3 separate regions of the Homo sapiens genome follow, and regions 2 and 3 are each linked to region 1. Evidence: promoter capture Hi-C in human tissues and cell types (Jung and others, 2019). All regions are on one chromosome and are shown on one strand. Each heading gives the region's core, a stretch centred on a gene start or on the middle of the fragment in contact. The rest is flanking DNA. Distances are from core to core; before and after follow the strand shown.

The links. Contacts are between HindIII fragments. The study calls those that stand out against the background at their distance.
Region 2: a fragment that was not itself captured here is called in contact with the fragment with the promoter of FZD4 in region 1 in 4 of the 25 tissues and cell types used here (IMR-90 fibroblasts, aorta, mesendoderm cells and 1 more).
Region 3: a contact is called between a fragment that was not itself captured here and the fragment with the promoter of FZD4 in region 1, in 2 of the 25 tissues and cell types used here (mesendoderm cells and thymus).

Annotation. Positions count from the first base shown.
Region 1 is chr11:86,952,544-86,956,785 of GRCh38, reverse strand. It overlaps FZD4 (frizzled class receptor 4), which reads left to right and starts at 1,391. Exons shown (of 2, transcript NM_012193.4): 1 at 1,391-1,985. The coding sequence starts at 1,701. It overlaps FZD4-DT (FZD4 divergent transcript), which reads right to left and starts at 1,165. Exons shown (of 3, transcript NR_038905.1): 1 at 1,074-1,165. It also overlaps a transcript of PRSS23 not described here. RefSeq lists silencers at 664-813, 1,164-1,533, 1,664-1,713. The HindIII fragment of the contact is 8,131 bases long and covers 1-4,242 here.
Region 2 is chr11:87,214,321-87,218,860 of GRCh38, reverse strand. The region is part of intron 5 of TMEM135 (transmembrane protein 135); the gene reads right to left. Among named protein-coding and RNA genes, the nearest start is that of TMEM135, 180 kb to the right of the region's middle. The HindIII fragment of the contact is 6,422 bases long and covers 1-4,540 here.
Region 3 is chr11:87,384,396-87,388,616 of GRCh38, reverse strand. The region is part of intron 2 of LOC107984361 (a long non-coding RNA gene); the gene reads right to left. Among named protein-coding and RNA genes, the nearest start is that of LINC02711, 330 kb to the left of the region's middle. The HindIII fragment of the contact is 3,422 bases long and covers 1,033-4,221 here.

The DNA.
Region 1 (4,242 bases), core at 142-2,641:
AAACACATACACACACACACACACACACACACACACACACACACACCCCAATCACCAAGTTCTTCAGCATTTATTATGTGTCAGACACTGCTAAATGATTTACAGGTATTATCTCACTGAACTCTTAGAACAACTGTGTGAGGTGGATATGAACTTCCCCACTTTACAGCCGGCCACTTTGAGGCTCAGAGAGGCACCATAGCTTCAACACAGTCAAGCAACAAGTAAACGGTGGAGGAATCCACCTGCTGGGAGTTTACTGGCCGACTGGAAAGCAGAGAGAGGGTGGACCAGCACAAAGCCGCGGGGGGCTGGTAATGAGACAGGAAAGTTGGGTTCAAACCTGGGTCACATGATCCCCAGATCCCTAGGAGCCGAAGCAGAAGCAAAGAAAAAAAGGGGTGCAGCCTGGTGGGGAGGGGGTGCCCGGGAGGCCGGGAGAGAGGAGTCACGGTGGTTGTGCGCCTTCCTCGTCCCCAGTGCACAGGTCAAGCCTCTCCCCTCCCGCCCTCTCACCCTCCCAACCTTATTTAGAAACCGTGTCCCCGAGACAGGAAGGGCGGCGGGCCGAGAAGCACGGAGAGTCCCGGTCTCATTTCCTTTCGAATCCCCCTGTGGAATTTCATTTCATACGGTGAGGAAATCAGAGCGCGAGACCGTCGGCGGGTCTGCAGCTCCGCAGCTCTGGGGCGCCTCCCCGCTGGCGGCTGGAGGTGGGCGGCTCCCTGCGCAGGTCGGGCGAGTCTGGGGGCGGGGAGAGGCCGGGCCCCGATCGCCGCTGGTCCGGAGTGAAAATAGCTGTGGACTCACGCAGTACCAGGCACCATGCTAAGCCTTCTACACTTTATCTCTAATCCTCCCAAGTGACTTTACAGAGGAGACTGACGCCGAGGGGTTGAGCAATTTGCTCAAGGTCACACAACCGGGACTGAAAGCCACAATCGGTGTAAATCCAAATCCCCAATTCTTTGTGTACGTTTCTCTGCCTGACGGGGAGGTGGCCACCGGCCTAGGTTACAGCTGAAAGGAGACAGGAAGGAAAGGGGGCAGATGGAACAGGGCGCACTTCTCACCTGCAGAAGGGGGCAGGACGGCGTGGCTGGAGCCACTGGGCTGCGTCCCTGCTTGGCCCCTGCGCGCCTAGATCCGGGTGGGAGGAAAGCAAGAGCCGGGAGGCGGGCGGGGCGGGGCGCTAGGGGAGGGAGGGAGGGAGGGGCGGCCGGAGGAGGGGGCCGGAGGGCGGGGGCCTGACTCCTCCTGCGGGAGAGCGGCCCCGCCCCGCCGCCTCGCCCCTAGCTGCCCACCGCGCCCGGCCATTGGAGAGGCCCGCTGTCCGTCCCGCCCCGCCGCCGCGCCGCGAGCCTCCAGCGCCGCGCAGGGCTCCGGCGGTGAGAGCTGCGCAGCGCTGGCTGCTGGCTGGCCTCGCGGAGACGCCGAACGGACGCGGCCGGCGCCGGCTTGTGGGCTCGCCGCCTGCAGCCATGACCCTCGCAGCCTGTCCCTCGGCCTCGGCCCGGGACGTCTAAAATCCCACACAGTCGCGCGCAGCTGCTGGAGAGCCGGCCGCTGCCCCCTCGTCGCCGCATCACACTCCCGTCCCGGGAGCTGGGAGCAGCGCGGGCAGCCGGCGCCCCCGTGCAAACTGGGGGTGTCTGCCAGAGCAGCCCCAGCCGCTGCCGCTGCTACCCCCGATGCTGGCCATGGCCTGGCGGGGCGCAGGGCCGAGCGTCCCGGGGGCGCCCGGGGGCGTCGGTCTCAGTCTGGGGTTGCTCCTGCAGTTGCTGCTGCTCCTGGGGCCGGCGCGGGGCTTCGGGGACGAGGAAGAGCGGCGCTGCGACCCCATCCGCATCTCCATGTGCCAGAACCTCGGCTACAACGTGACCAAGATGCCCAACCTGGTTGGGCACGAGCTGCAGACGGACGCCGAGCTGCAGCTGACAACTTTCACACCGCTCATCCAGTACGGCTGCTCCAGCCAGCTGCAGGTGGGCGCCCCCACCCCCACCCCTGGCGGGACCCCTTGGGGAGGGACGCTCCAAACTAACTTTGCAGAGCCCATGCCAAGTTGATCATCCTAGCCCGAAGGAGACAGCTCTCCTGGAAAAGTGATTTCCATCCCCACCCCCACTTTCTCAGGGACTGGAAGCCAAAACGTTGTGTAAGTCATCTGGCCTGGGAAAGAACCCACTCTTACACCCCGCCCTTCCGTTTTTCTCTCTTGCCCACCCATGTCTGGCCCAGACCCCTAACCCCAGTGGAGCTGAGGGTTATCTCTGCCAAGGATTCTGGCCGCCACTGCTCGGTGGGCGAGTGGGAGGGAGCCAGCTGCAGCTAAGACTTGGAGGGAGTGATAAGGAGACCATCCTTCACCGAACTTCCTTCTCCCCACTATTTTTGGGGTGTTATTAAATGAAACACTACTGCACCTTTTTCTGCTGAATAGCCCCTTCTCACGACGTCCCGCAGCGTTTTAGAGGTCATGCATGAAGGAGTGGTTGGGTTGGCTTGAGTTCTTTCTTATCCTCACAGTTGAAGGCACGTTTAATGCTTGGAGGGTGAGAAGAAGCTGCAGGAAGGTGGTTGGTATATTGGAAGAAATTTTTTTGCAGTCATTAAAAAATGTAAAGCATATCTAATGATAGAGAAAATGTTTATTCCACAGTAATAAGAATTTGCATATACAGGGTGATTATAATCCTGCAAAATAAAAAATTTATTGGGATAATAAAAGACTGACAGGAAAATTTTTAAAGTGTTAACATTGGTTATGTTTGGGTTGGTGAGGCTGGGTGATTTTTAGAAATTTAGAAAAGAGAGAAGTTGTGGGAAAAAGTAGACGTTAGTTGTCCAGGCTTCAGAAATCTGGTTTCTGGCCGGGCGCAGTGGCTCACGCCTGTAATCCCAGCACTTTGGGAGGCCGAGGCAGGTGGCTCACGAGGTTAGGAGTTCGAGACCAGCCTGACCAACATGGCGAAATCCTGTCTCTACTAAAAGTACAAAAATTAGCCGGGCGTGGTGGCGTGCGCCTGTAATCCCAGCTACTCAGGAGGCTGAGGCAGGAGAATCGCTTGAACCCAGGAGGCAGAGGTTGCAGTGAGCGGGGATTGCACCATTGCACTCTAGCCTGGGCCACAGGAGCGAAACTCCGTATCAAAAAAAAAAAGAAAAGAAAAGAAATCTGTGGTTCTGGCTGTAACTTCTGAGAGATAATAAACAGACATACAGCTTACTTACTAGGTGCATGTTTTTACATAGGTCATTTTAAAACTTGGTTTGTGGTTTTGGAAAGATGGTGGGGATTAGACCTGTTGCTGCTAAAATATCCCTTTGGAAGTTTCAGAACTTTAGAACTAGGTTATAAAAGCTTAAGAAATGATCCTCCAGCTCTCAGTTTGGAAACAGCACATATCCTGACATCAGTGGCAATTTGTTGGAGAAACAGCTTTTGCAGGGATATATATTTTTAATTACATGTATCCTGGGGAAAGCGGCCAAGCTGTTTTGAAGGACAAGACTGGATCCCTTTACATGCTGGAAAATAGTTACTTGTAACTCTAGACTTCATAGACAACATCTGTAAGGAGCCAAGCAGACTGTTTATCAATGCTGGAGGAATTGAGGACAGCAACTGGACTCTCCCCTGCTGGTACTGCAGTTTCAGCGACTTAACATTTACATTTTCCTATTGTGCTTCATTATTATTCATTGAGGAAACCTGGCCAAACAAATCCCTAGTGACCAGAGACCTCAATCTGCATCCCATCCTTGAGTCTAACAGTGTCTCATTTGGGCCATTTTTTGTTTCAGTATGGGACTAGTTTAAACAAATTTTTAAGGGATAAATTAGGGAGAAGAGAATACTAACAGGATCTACATTTTTTTTTAACTTTTATTTTTAAAATGATAAAGAAACGGGGATAAAAATAAACCACCTAAATGAGTCATATTAGTTTCTTTAGCTTTTTCAAATAGTTTCTAAAATGGAAGGAGATTGAAAGCCAGTTTTTTAAGATTTATTTCAAGTGTTGTGCAAAGAGGGCTTATGCAATTCTTCAGACCCTATTTATTTTATTTATTTATTTATGTACATTCTTCTGGAAAGGATTACTAAAGCCAAACTAAGAAAAGTATGTAAGTGATGGATTATCAGGCGCCCTTGTTTGAGGTCAGAGTAAACAGACAGACTCCCGATAGGTTGGTTTAAAAGTAGATACCTAGATTGCCTGGAAGCATTCAACTCAG
Region 2 (4,540 bases), core at 290-2,789, 260 kb before region 1:
CCTCCCGAATAGCTGGGATCACAGGTGTGCACCACCATGCCTGGCTAATTTTTGTATTTTTAGTAGAGACGGGGTTTCACCATATTGGCCGGGCTGATCTCGAACTCCTGACCCCAAGTGATCCACCTGCCTCGGCCTTCTAAAGTGCTGGGATTACAGGCATGAGCCACCGCGCCCAGCCTACAGCACATTTTTATAGCCCTGTGAGTTGACGGCTTGGAATCATGAATGGCTCCAACAGGATTACCATGAATCACTGTGACAGAAAAGGGGATTTAGGCATTATCACCATAAGGAAAAACTACTAAAGCAATATCAGCTGGTATATTCATTTTTCAGATTATCTAGGTAACAGATAGTAGATGTTAAAGAAATAGAGCCCAAGGGAGCTAAGCCTGATGAGACCAAGAATCATTAGTGAGGATAGGTCTAGAGGGGTGGTACAGAGCATGAGGGCAATGGAAGTGATGATGTTACAAATATGGCAAGAATCTGTTCAAAGTAAGTGTTTCCTACTTCATACCTTTGCCAAAGGCCAGTATTATCTGGCCTAATAACTTCAGGCCCAGATAAGTTTTAAAGATCAAAGGGCCCACTTCTAAGTTAAATCCCTAGAGTTTTTTAACACTGACACTAGTGAGATTTGGGGGTGGATAAATTATTTGTTGTCTGGGTGGGGCTCATGGCAGGGAAGAAGGGCTGTCTTGTATTATAGGATGTTTAGTAGCATCGCTGGCCTTTACCTAGACAGCACCCCTCTGCCATCCCCACCAATGACGACAACTAAAAATGCCTCCAAACATAGCCAAATGTCTTTAGGAAGATGTACAAAATTGCCCCCAGTTGGAATTACTGCCCTAGAAGAAGCTTAAAGACTTGGAACACTCATACAATCTTAAGCACTGAAAAAGGCCTGAGAACTATCTAATCCATCCTCTTCTCCATGACATGAATCCCCTCTGCAATGATCCTAAAAGATCACTGTCTAGCTTTTGTTTAAACATCTCCTAGAATAGGAAATTCTCAACTTTACCAGGCAACCAAACCCACCACCCCAACCTTCTTTTTTTTTTTTTGAGACAGAGTTTCACTCTTGTTGCCCAGGCTGGAGTGCAATGGCACGATCTCGACTCACGCAACCTCCACCTCCCTGGTTCAAGCGATTCTCCTGCCTCAGGCTCCCGAGTAGCTGGGATTACAGGCATGAGCCGCCACGCCGAACTAACTTTGCATATTTAGCAGAGACGGGGTTTCTCTATGTTGGTAACGCTGATCTTGAACTCCCATCCTCAGGTGATCTGCCCACCTCAGCCTCCCAAAGTGCTGAGATTACAGGCAGGAGCCACCGCACCCGGCCCCAAATCCCTTTTTAGAACAGTTCTATTTGAAATCCATTTTTGGTCAGTTCTCATTATTGTACTGAAATTTGCCTTTCTCTAAATTATATTCATAATTCCTAGATTTATAAAACACTGATCATTTTTCCACAAACCCAGCCCTTCAAATATATAACTTCTACACCTTGATTCTTTGTAGGTCAAGAGAACTACAAGAGACACACAAACAACATCAATTAACATTCTGTATACCCAATGGTCAAGGAGTTGCCCAAGCCATTCATGGGATATAGAGAAATTGGTCTACCTCCCGATTCCAGATGAGCTCAGCCCTGGATCACACATGCATTTATAGCAATATTTATAAACACTTTAATATTTAAACTTTTATATTCTCAAAAACATACCCTCTTATTTATTACATTTTTCTTTTCAAATTATTTACCTTTCATTTAAACAGGCAATTTCTGATAAAGATTAAGTTGTTAGTTTTTAAAAAGACCTATTCCCTCATTGTTGGACCAAATGATATGCCTCCATCAATATACTCAGAGCCTTTTTATTATGCTATTTTATTACATACACTACTTACTTAGATGTAAATAAGCCCTTAATTTTGTACAATTTTACTTCTTGTGTAATTGATGCTCTAAATTTTGGATTGCTGTGTTCTAAAATGTGTTTTTAAAGCATCATTTTAAAGTAATTGATCAAATCAAAGCATTTAAATCCCTCAATTGGAAAATATATTTTAGAAATGGCTTAAGGCAAATATATTTTTATAAAACCTTAAAGTGCTTATGGTTTAACTGTATAATTAACATCACATATCCAAAACTCAGCCAACAAGTCCAATTATCTAAATAGTAGTTTTAAAGTTTTGTTTTTTAAGCAAAGAAACTCTTTGCTCAAACAAAACCAGACCTGCAAAACTTTTAGTAAAACAAATGAATGCAGAAATGCTCTGCCTGAGGTAGGATAAGGTACCCTAAAGTCCTGATTTGCCTCTCATACTGTGTTACATAGTAGTTCCTGGTAGGCTCTGCAAAACTCTGGGAATACATGAAGAATATCTTGGAAAACACTACGTCAACACATAGTCAAACAACAGGGTAGAGTAAGCCACTGTACCCTCTCCCCTGCACTTGCTTCTCAAAAGAAAAAAAAAAGGTTCAGAGGCAGGAGAGAGAAATTCACACCCACCATGCACTTAACTTGTAGTAGAATATCTTAGGTCTACTCTCAAGGTAAGTCTGTTCTTAGTTTACATATCATGTTGGCAATACAAGCTAAGGGATTTTCAAAAAGACTGTAGTCCCCCCTTATCCGCAGGGGATCCATTCCAAGACCCCCAGTGGATGTCTGAAACTACTTATAATGCCAAACCCTATATACACTATGTTTCTTCCTATACATACATACCTGTGATAAAGTTTAATTTATAAATTAGGAACAGTAAGAAATTACAATAATAAAAAATAGAACAGTTACAATATACTATAATAAAAGTTACATGAATGGTCTCTCTCTCTTTCTCTCTCATCTTCTTGTACTGTACCACAGGTAACTAAAACCAGGAAAAGCAAAACTATTGACACTATGGTTAAGAGGAGGCTATTAGATAGCAGGAAATTCAGCATAGAAGGGAGAGGGAAAACAGGAGATACTAGAGGGAAACATATAAATAACAATGAAGTTATAGTTGAAAGCAAAGGAAAAGTAAAGCATCAATAAGAATGATACACTGTTTACAAAGTTGGCCACAACAATTTCTCCCATCCCTGTATGCATACTTCCCTTGCCATTTGACTTGCTGTTCCACTCCTAGAGACAGAGATAGAGAGGTAAGTTCCCCATCCTTCCTGGGTTAGCCCTTATCACTCACTTTGACCAACAGAATATGGCAAAAGTAGCTCTGTGTAACTTCCAAGTCCAGTGCCCCACTTTCCTCTCTTGGAACCTTGAGGGCATTACATAAATATGAACTAGCCAACTTGAGGATGAGAGGCAACAATGACAGAGAAGCCGATGACCAACTTAACAGGTGACACCATGTTAAGACCAGGCAGCCCCAGTCAAGGTCCCAAACAACTATAGCTGCATGACTAATCCCAAGAGATACCAGCAGAAGAGCTGTCCAGCTAAGCCCTGACCAAATTACTGACTCACAGAATCATGAGCAAATAAAACTGTCACTGTTTTAAAGCCAGTAAGTTTTGGGGTAGTTCATTATATGGTAATAGATAATAAGTAACTGAAACTCAAAATTAATAGTTACCTGGAAATCACTTAGGTAGAACAAAGAACCCTATCCAATTCAGTAGGTCCTAAATGTGTAAATATTATTGTATTATAAAGTATTTCATATTAGTAATAGTTAATAATAAATGATACAAGTTGTTTAGTATGTTCTAAATAAGAAAAAGAAATATGTGACACCTTCTGTAAACAATTTAATATAATTAAATATATTTTAAAGAGTCCCAAACTCATGGAAAACTTGGATTTCTGCATTACCAAATAACAAATTCTATTGATCTTAAACATTCAATACAATCAATAAAATTATTTAGCACCCATACTTCATTAACTATTCCATCAGTGTTAAATAAAATAGAAGGTCAATTATGGATATATAAACTCTAGAATATATTTTACAATGACCTAATAATATGCATACTTTGGCTGCTAACACATCTTAACTCTATACTTTATTAAGAACTTTGGCTGAAAAAGATCTTGTAACTAATCAGTCGTTATAGCAAAAACTCTACATAAGTCAACCATAGCTTCAGTTTTTCCTTCCCATAACATTCTGTAGTGATGTAATATAGGGGGAAAAAGCTTTAAATACTCAGAATAAAACCACTTAACTAAGCAAACACTGTAATTATTAGTTTATACATATTTTGCCTCATAACCTGGTGCTGTAGCCAAAAGAAAATACAAAAAAAAAAAAGTGTTACAGAGTCTGGTCTACATAGGTAAGGTGTTTTCCTTAAAGGAAATTCTCATTCACCTGATAATCTAAACCACAGCCTAAAAAGATGTAACTTCCCAATACAGGTCTTCTGTTAATAAAATGTTAGCATGCCTACAACTAATCCTGCCATTCACTTCTCTTGTTCACCAGAAAAACTGTACTGCACTGCTGTAATAGTAAAGACTGATTGAGTACATGGAAGTTTGAAAAAAGGCTGCTT
Region 3 (4,221 bases), core at 1,494-3,993, 430 kb before region 1:
TCTTTAGTTTAATTAGACCCCATTTGTCTATTTTGGCTTCTGTTGCCATTGCTTTTGGTGTTTCAGACATGAAGTCCTTGCCCATGCCTATGTCCTGAATGGTATTGCGTAGGTTTTCTTCTATGGTTTTTATGGTTTTAGGTCTAACATTTAAGTCTTTAACCCATCCTGAATTAATTTTTGTATAAGGTGTAAGGAAGGGATCCAGTTTCAGTTTCTGCATATGGCTAGCCAGTTTTCCCAGTACCATTTATTAATGGCCCCCACTCTTTTCTGGCTTGTAGGGTTTCTGCTGAGAGATCCACTGTTAGTCTGATGGGCTTCCCTTTGCAGGTAACTCGACCTTTCTCTCTGGCTGCTCTTAACATTTTTTCCTTCATTTCAACCTTGGTGAATCTGACGATTATGTGTCTTGGGGTTGCTCTTCTTAGGAGTATCTTTGTGGTGTTCTCTGTATTTCCTGAATTTGCCTGTTGTCCTGCCTTGCTAGGTTGGGGAAGTTCTCCCAGATAATGTCCTGAAAAGTGTTTTCCAACTTGGTTCCATTCTCCCCATCACTTTCAGGTACACGAATCAAACATAGATTTGGTCTTTTCATATAGTCCCATATTTCTTGGAGGCATTGTTCATTTCTTTTTAGTCTTTTTTCTGTAACCTTGTTTTCTCACTTTATTTCATCAATTTGATCTTCAATCACTGATATGCTTTCTTCCACTTGATCAAATTGGCTATTGAAGCTTGTGCATGCGTCATGAAGTTTTTGTGCCATGGTTTTCAGCTCCATCAGGTCATTTAAGGTCTTCTCTACACTGTTTATTCTAGTGAGCCATTTGTCTAACCGTTTTTCACGGTTTTAACTTCCTTGCAATGAATTCGAACATCCTCCTTTAGCTCAGAGAAGTTTGTTATGACCAATCTTCTAAAGCCTACTTCTGTCAACTCGTCAAAGTCATTCTCTATCCAGCTTTGTTCCGTTGCTGGTGAGGAGCTGCAATCCTTTGGAGAAGAAGAGGCACTCTGATTTTTAGAATTTTCAGCGCTTCTGCTCTTGTTTCTCCCCATCTTTGTGGTTTTATCCACCTTTGGTCTTTAATGTTGGTGACCTACAGATGGGGTTTTGGTGTAGATGACCTTTTGGTGATGTTGATGCTATTCATTTCTGTTTGTTAGTTTTCCTTCTAACAGTCAGGTCCCTCAGCTGCAGGTCTGTTGGAATTTGCTGGAGTTCTACTCCAGACCCTGTTTGCCTGGGTATCACCAGTGGAGGCTGCAGAACAGCAAATATTGCAGAACAGCAAATATTGCTGCCTGATCCTTCCTCTGGAAGCTTCGTCCCAGAGGGGCAGCTGCCTATATGAGGTGTTTGTCGACCCCTACTGGGAGGTGTCTCCCAGTTCCATTTCACGGGCATCAGGGACCCACTTGAGGAGGCAGTCTGTCCATTCTCAGAGCTCAAACGCCATGCTGGGAGAACCACTTCTCTCTTCAGAGCTGTCAGACAGGGATGTTTAAGTCTGCAGAAGTTGTCTGCTGCCTTTTGTTCAGCTATGCCCTGCCCACAGAGGTGGAGTCCAGAGGCAGTAGGCCTTGTTGAGCTGCAGTGGGCTCCACCCAGTTCAAGCTTCCCGGCTGCTTTGTTTACCTACTCAAGCCTCAGCAATAGCAGAAGCCCCTCCCCCAGCCAGGCTGCCATCTAGCAGATGGATCTCAGACTGTTGCACTAGCAGTGAGCAAGGCTCCGTGGGCATGGGAGCCACCAAGCCAGGCACAGGAGAGAATCACCTTGTTTGCCAGTTGCTAAGACCTTGGGAAGAGCACAGTATTTGAGCAGGAGTGTCCTGTTTTTCCAGGTAGTCTGTCATGGCTTCCCTTGGCTAGGAAAGGGAAATCGCCTGACCTCTTGCACTTCCCAGGTGAGGCGATGCCCCGCCCTGCTTCGGCTCACCCTCTGTGGGCTGTACCCACTGTCCAACCAGTCCCAATGAGATTAATCAGGTACTTCAGTTGGAAATGCAGAAATCACCCTTCTTCTGCATCAATCCTGCTGGGAGCTGCAGACCGGAGCTGTTCCTATACGGCCATCTTGGAACAACCCGAGATAAGAAATTTTTGGTTGAAATTTATTTTTTTTAAGAATGCTAAAAATAGGCCCCTAATTTCTTCTGGCTTGTAAAGTTTCTGCTGAGAAGTCCACTGTTAGCCTGATAGGGTTCCCTTTGCACATGATCTGACCTATTTCTCTAGCTGCCTTCAAGATTTTTTCTTTAGCATTGACCTTGGACAGTCTGGTGACTATATGCCCTGGTGGAGTTAGTTTTGTATAGTTTCTCCCAGGTGTTCTCTAGATTTCTTGTACCTGGATGTCTACCTCTCTAGCAAGATTAGAAAATTTTTCTTGAATTATTCCCTCAATATGTTTTCCAAGTTGTTTACTTTTCCTCCTTCTTTCTCAGGAATGCCAGTAATTCATAGCTTTTGGTTGCTTTACATAATACCATGTATCTTGAAGAATTTGGTTGGTTGTTTTAATTCCTTTTTTTTTTTTTTTTTTTGGTCTGACTGGTTTAGTTTGAAAGACTGGTCTTCAAGCTCTGAAATTCTTTCCTCTGATTGATTCAGTCTATTGCTAAAGCTTTCAATTGTATTTCAAAATTCATTGAGTTTTTCAGTTCCAGAAGCTCTGGTTGATTTATTTTTAAGATGTCTCTTTCTTCATTTCCTGGATTGCTTAGCAGTTTCTTTGTGTTGATATTCAACTTTGCCTTGGATCTCATAGACCTTCCTTGCAATCCGTGCTTTGAATTCTTTATCTGTAGTTTCTGAATTTCCATTTTGGTTAGGGACCCTTGCTGGACCAATTAGTGTGATCTTTTTGTGTTGTCTCCACATTCAGATTTTTCATGGTGCCAGAATTCCTGTGCTGGTTCCTTATCATCTGGAGAGACTTGCACTTCTAATTTTTGTAGTTATTTTTATATAGGTAGATTTTTTTCTTTTTCTTTCTTTCCCTATTATGTTTCCCTTCCTTTTTCTTTTCCCCCCATTCCCTAGGGAATGTGACTGTAGAGAATGCTGGATACAGTCTTTTGGCTTTGCTTCAATAGCCGTAAGCACTCTTTTTTAGTGGGTTTTATATTGGGCTGTGCTGTTTGACCTACAAGCCAGTAGAAGGTACTTATAAGTAAGTAATCTGTGGCCAACATGGCTGGGTATATACATGATCCTTGTTTACTGGCAGAAGCTGTTTCCTTAGTCAATGGGCTGATTCATGGAAGGCACAGTGGTCTGAGCTCCATGTTCAGCCACTGGTGGGTGGGGGCCACGATGGGCAGGGCTGGACTGGGGGGTCCACCTACAGATCCCTGATGGCAGGCATGAGCATCAGTGCCAAGGGAGAATCCAGCAGGCAGCCACCAAGTACCCAGAGGAGTGCCTAGGCATGGAGCTGGGAAGCTTACTTAGCTCTTCAAGTTCTCTGCATGGGGATGGGAGAGGGCCTAAACTCCTAATCTGGGAAAGTAGGTGCTCCAGATGCTTGGAGATCTATTTGAGCGTGGAGCAGAGAGAGCCCCCACTACACCAAGATGTCTGCACAGGAGGGGTGGGGTGACTCAGACTAACAGGGTGGGCAAGCAGGTGCTCTGAATACCTGGAGATCTGCCTGGGCATACATCAGAGAAAGCTCAGGTGCACCATGATCTATATCCAGGAAGGGTGGGGTAGCTCAGGCTGCTGAATAGACAAAATGCTCCAAATACCTAGAGATCTGCTTAAGCATGAAGCAGAGTGGGCGTCCCTGCACCAGGAACTCTGCCCAAGAAGGGTAGGGTGGGTCAAGCTGCTGATCTAGGTGAGAAGATGCTCTGAATGCCTGGATGTGGAGCAGAGAGAGCCCTAATTCACCATGATCTATGTCCATGGAGATTGAGGCAGCTTACACTGCTGGCCTAGGGAAGTGGGTGCTACAAATGCCTGGATTTCTGCCTGGGGGTGGAGCACAGAGGGCTCTACTGCACCACAATCTCAGGGGAGCAGGCTGAGGGTGCCCAGCAATGGCACACACAGACCGGTTCCAAGTTTCCAAGCTGTCCCTAGCTGCAAGTCTCACCTCTCAGGAGAAACTGCTGCTGTAGTATTTCTCTGCCACCTCTACGCTTGCAATGAGGGACAGCATAATTCTAATGCCTAATGCTGAAATGCCTTCCTCAGTTCTGGCTGTGG